Regions from separate parts of the Homo sapiens genome. Here region 2 is linked to region 1. The links are contacts of gene promoters, found by promoter capture Hi-C in human tissues and cell types (Jung and others, 2019). All regions are on one chromosome and are shown on one strand. Each heading gives the region's core, a stretch centred on a gene start or on the middle of the fragment in contact. The rest is flanking DNA. Distances are from core to core; before and after follow the strand shown.

Region 1 (2,852 bases), core at 102-2,601:
ATTTTTTACTTTATACTTAATTTTTATTATTTCAGTAACAATATATTGATTTATAATTTACTATATGCTAAATTACTTTATAAACTATCCTGTGCTTTATAAATGTAAGGTATTAGTTTTATTATTCTCAAAGAAAGACCTACAACGGAAGTATTGAAAATCTTTACATTCCTGATATACCCTGATCAACTTCAATATGGAAAGCCTTGCTTATATACAGGCTAATCTTTTCTATCTCTGGGTAGGGAGAAAAAAACAACAAAAAAAAAACACCAGCAACAACCCTTAATGTCCTTTAACAAACACAGATTCAAAATGTCCTGATTACATCTTTAAAATTAAGTCAAATGTTTTCATCCCAAATAAATTCTGTTCTTTCAAATAATATTTTCCCTTCATTTCTAATAAAAGTTTATGAGGGCAAGATTCAAAAGTGATATTTCTGACTTTTTTATATATCAATAGTAAGAAAGTTATAGGAGCTAATTTCACTTCATATTAAACCACTTATAGATTTGGCATTAACTTTAACTTGCTAAAGTACAAGAGTTTTTATAATAACAATGTAAGTCTTAAATAAAATTTTCAAGTTTCATAAAATTATTTGTCTCAGCTAGTTAATTCAACTGGTTTTTAGCCATCTCTGTTTCCAAGAGGAGAGAATCAAAGGAGAAAATAGTTCTACAATCAAATACTATATATCTAATCCCATTAGTCTCTCAAAAAAAAAAAGAAAAGAAAGACGGTATGAGGTTGGCTACCTTAACCCCTGCCTTAAGCAGCACAATATCCATCATTAAACCCCTCAGCCTCAATTCTCCCTTTTCTGTTTTTGTCCCAGGAACTTTATCACCCTGAATCTACCTACAATATCCTCCCCTATCTCACACATCCAAATGGTTCATTCTATTTTATCTGTACCCCTCTTGAAGTACTTCTTCATTTTGCCATTGCATTACAATCATTATTAAACATGTCTTTCTCCTTTACTAGGTAAAAAAAGCTGCTTTTGGTTGATAGCCAGTTCGTATACATCTCCCCGCACACTGCTGGCATGATGAGTGAATGAATGAATGAATGAATGAATGAACAAAGAAATAAATAAAATATTTAACATATATTCCATTAAGTAAAGGGCATATAATATAATATCAGTACATACTTGTAATTAAGATGCAATGAGACAAGTGAGTTATAAAAATTACAGTACAGTAAACAATAAATAAAAACATCTTTAAAAGTATTTAAGAGACTTTTTTTGTTCAAACTTGGATAACGCACACCCTTCTCATTGAGATGCTGCTTCCTCATTGGTTTGTGCTGAAATATGAGTGCAATTTCCTGTCCCCTCAGCAGTGTTGGTTTCTCTTCTTGACTTGATGCAGGCACAGATTTATCAAGCTCCTCAGTCAACAAACACATCACCGGAAGAAATATGGGTAAGTATAAGATTAAAAAATAAAATAATATTTTAAAGTAGATAACATGCTTTGGCATAATTGTCAGTGATGTTCGCAACATTCTTCCTGGTTTAGGCTGTATAAATGTGGTAATGCAAAGCATGATAAGAGAGAAAGAAATGAGGAAGACACATGGTTTCCTCTACTTTGAGCAGTGGTAAAGGGCCAAACTTTAAATTTAGAACTAATTAGGCAAAACCATAGATATAGAAAAAGGGGGTTGTTCATACTTTATTTTCTTTTCAGGAAACAGTGCTTTGGCAAACTTCATTCAGTATTAGGAAGAAGCCTACCAGCCCCTGGCTTTAGAGCTATCTGGCACCAATCCCTCATCTGTACAATGGTCCAGTAAATACTTTTTATATCCATCAGAAAAAAATGTGATATTAGGAAAGAATATTTCCAGTATTAATAAATGTCAAGTAATAATTATTAGTTAATAAGTGACTACCACAGTGCCTGAAATATATAGTAGAGTCTTAATAAGTAACTATTAAACTGATAGATGAAAGCAAGCATTTTCTATAACACTGTAGGAAAATATTGTACTTTTGGTCATCGTCATCAATGATTTGTACTATTTTTAGATCTGTTCAAGAATAGATATACTTTAATATACTGTAGATTGTCTTTTTTGACATCTGGTAAAAATTAAAAAATTAAAAACTCACCAAAATTTCTCAGTGCTTGTTCTAAAAACAATTTTCTCAAAATTTGATTAAAGGAGGCAAAATAATATCTGAAAAGATATGTGAATACTGTAATAGGAATTATATACAGTATTCCACTAAAATCTCAGATCCACCCAAATTAAATGAACAACTATTATCTGCAGAGCCTAGTATTATACGTGAAGTGTTACCATATAAATTACACTCTGAGCACCTCCAGCTTTTCTGCTATGCTGTGGCTAGATGACTAAAGATGATTTCTTTTCAGAAAATGTAGGGGACAGCACAAAGATTGGTGCAGACTACCAATGTCATTAAAACAATATTACCAGCTAACGTACAGTGAATGCCTCCCATGTGCTAGGAACTTTGCTTCATATGTCGTTTCATTTAACCCTCACAACAATCTTAGAAACTGGGTACTAACTTACACATGTGAAAACTGGAACTTAGAGAGGTGAAGAAACACCAATGGGCCCAGAGTGCTGTTGAGAGGCATTCGAATTGTCTCCAGAGCCCACGCTCTTAACCACAAGCCTGTACTGCCTCTGCGTCACTACAAAGAAGAGGGCCTCTGCTTCATCAACCCATCCTGTCTTGTGGTTAAGTCAAGGCAGGAAATGCTTTTACAGCTAGAGAAATGTATTCCATTGAAAACTTTATAAACCTTTCTAAAAATCATTTTTTCATTTAATCTGTCATACCATTTTTAAAGAAAATG
Region 2 (2,852 bases), core at 189-2,688, 600 kb after region 1:
CGCACCACTGCACTCCAGCCTGGGTGACAGAGCAAGACTGTCTCAAACAAAGAAAACAGATACATGGAATTAGAGTTGAAGAAGAACTAACTGCTTCTTGGACACATCTAATACACCTCTTTTTTGCCTGCCATTTCTTCCATTTCTTCCTAAGGTCCTTTTACTGCCAGTTCCTGAGCCTTTGGAGAATCTTGTGGTCTGAATTGGATTGCTTCATTATTGCCTTAGAATTCAGCTTTTACAGATCCCCTGAGTTCTTAATCATCTGTTTTCCACTTTGAAAATTTCTTTTTACACTTATTTTCTTTGTGAGTTTATGCTTTCAAAACAAAAACAAAACCCTTATTGACATTTCTGTGGGCTTTCAGGAGGGAACAAAAAGTAAATGCATGGGGTCAGCCTGTGGTCTCTACTCAGAAGATGTTACTTACTCCCCCGTCTGTCTGGTCTCCATGTGACCTGGGCTGCTAACGTTCCGCTTGCAGAGAGGTGTGCGGGAGGGACCGGTGCACGCTTTCCTCAACCCTGGAGCATGTTACACTTGGGTTCCCATACTTTCTCCAAGCTTTGACCTTTCGGCTTCCAGTTCACTCTGTCTTTATTCTTCTCATTCCCTTTCATTCTCATGTGTCAGCGCATCTCCTCCATTCCTCCTCAAAAGGTTAGCTTTGCTCTCTCCCACCTTCAGCATTATTTTCATCTCTTCTGTGTTCACCCAACCTATGAACTGGTAGAACTCCTTCGTCTCAGAAAGTGCAGAGTGGTGGGAAGGAGTGAAGCAGCCCCTGGGCCACTGTTGGGACCCACCTTTGACAGTTGTGAGACCTCGGTGAATCATTTAATAACTTGGAGCTGCAAACAGTCATCTGTAACATGGGAGGAAACCGACTTTGTAGGCTTTGAGTGAGGATTCAGTGAGAGACGGCCACCCTGAATATGTTAAACACTTCTGTCACCTTCGGTTTTGACTCAGCATCTTATTTCTGTCCCCCCACCTACAGGTCAAATCTGAATTTTCTACTTCCTCTTAAACATGGGAGAGTCCCACAAAGACTTTAAATCTAACATGGAAATGTATCTTTGCCCCTTTTAACTTTGCTCTTTTTCTTTTGCTAAGTTTCTCATCCCAGCTTTCTCTTCCGCCTGTCTCCCTTTACCATCTGTACTGCCCTTGCTGGGGAAGGCGGGCACGCCCCTTCCCAGGATGGAGCATGTCTTCTCTTCCTGTCAGGTGTGTGAGACCAGGACAGACAGCAGAGAATCTTTTCATTCAGAGCCTCACCCTCTGTCCCGGGCAACAGCAGGTCGAGAACTCTGGTTCTTCCTTAACACTGTTTTTCTAAAAACCAGTTTGATCAGGCCACTTCCTTCCTTAGGAACCTCTCTTGATTTCTTTTCTCTTTTTTTTTTTTTTGGTTTGAGATGGAGTCTCCCTCTGTCACTCGTGCTGGAGTGCAGTGGCACAATCCTGCTCATTGCAGCCTTGACCTCCTGGGCCCAAGCACTTCTCCCACCTCAGCCTCCCAAGTAGCTGGGACTGCGGGCATGTGCTCCCACGCCTGGCTAATTTTATTTATTTATTTATTTTCTGGTTGATGGGAGGTCTCACTATGTTGCCTAGGCCGGTCTCAAACTCCTGGGCTTATGGAATCCTTGTGCCTTGGCCTCCCAGAATGTTGGGATTACAGACATGAACCGCCACACCAGGCCACTTGATTTCTTACTAATTATAGACCAGAATCGAGAGTCACTGAGACATAGAAGAACCTTTATTATATGTGTCAGCCTTCCTTGGTATGTACTGCTGAGCCCACCACACACACCCTTCCAGCCATTCCACATTCTAACCTTTCTCAGATGCCTTCGGCCTTGTGAAAGCCCCTTTCCTTCTACGTGCGTTTTCCTCTGCCTGAAGTGCTGTGTTCGTTTCTCCGAGTCTCTCTCCTTGTTTATTCCTGCTTGTTCCTTTACTGCTGACTTCAGATGTTCCTCCTTGCTAAGCTTTTCGTTGGTTCTTGGCTGGAGTGGGCTGTTCTGTATTCTCAGCACCTTGTTCACATCCCTTTTGGGTCATGCTATTCTGAAATTGTATATGTGTCTGTTTTTCTTTTTTTCTTTGTGTATCTAGCTCAGTTCTCTTAGTTGTTCAGTAAATACTCAGTGAATGAACATAAATGAATACCCTGTAAATTTTGGTCTCTAAGCTTTAAAAGAAGTGTATTAACTTCAGTCCGTTGATGGCGTATTGATAGGTCAGCCATTCTGGGTTGTAGGTCTTGGCATATTTTATAAAATAGTAGATGATGTGAGCTTATGGTTATTTGCATTAAAGGCCAGTGTTTTTCTTGATACATATGTTTAAGTGTCCATTCACCTTTCAGTTACCTTTTAAAGTAGTCCTCGGTTTATAACCAACTGGAAATTATACCACTTGAATTCTTTTTATCAGGACATGATTCTAAGTGGTACTGTGCGAAGTGAACAAACCAGATTTTGGAAAAGTGGTTCAGCAGTCTGTGTATTCTAATTATAGGGAGCATTAGGACTCAAATTCTCCAGGTTTTTAGAAAAGATTTTTGTACTTTAAGGGTATATTGTTAATATCTGTTGAGATGCCTCACCTGAGAACCTTTCTCTGCTGTGGTTAGGGAGTGTTAATCAGAATCACTTGTGCCGTGCCCTACGCGAGAAGGACTCCTTGAGTTCTTTGAAAACATGTTTGGAATAGAATTATAGCCCTGTTTTCCTGAGTGGAACCAGTTGTGATTTTCCTTTGAAATAATTTGAATATATAAAAGATTGACATTCTTCTCACATATATAATGTTGGGAATGTAAGGTATATTCAAAAGT

The links. The method cuts DNA at HindIII sites, captures the fragments that hold promoters and counts their contacts. A contact is called where the count stands out against the background at its distance.
Region 2: a fragment that was not itself captured here is called in contact with the fragment with the promoter of GPR65 in region 1 in 1 of the 25 tissues and cell types used here (lymphoblastoid cells).

Annotation. Positions count from the first base shown.
Region 1 is chr14:88,003,784-88,006,635 of GRCh38, forward strand. GPR65 (G protein-coupled receptor 65) reads left to right here and starts at 1,352. Exons shown (of 2, transcript NM_003608.4): 1 at 1,352-1,439. RefSeq lists enhancers at 1,767-1,936, 2,737-2,796. The HindIII fragment of the contact is 6,432 bases long and covers 1-2,852 here.
Region 2 is chr14:88,599,042-88,601,893 of GRCh38, forward strand. The region is part of intron 10 of ZC3H14 (zinc finger CCCH-type containing 14); the gene reads left to right. Among named protein-coding and RNA genes, the nearest start is that of ZC3H14, 37 kb to the left of the region's middle. RefSeq lists an enhancer at 1,011-1,290. The HindIII fragment of the contact is 4,650 bases long and covers 1-2,852 here.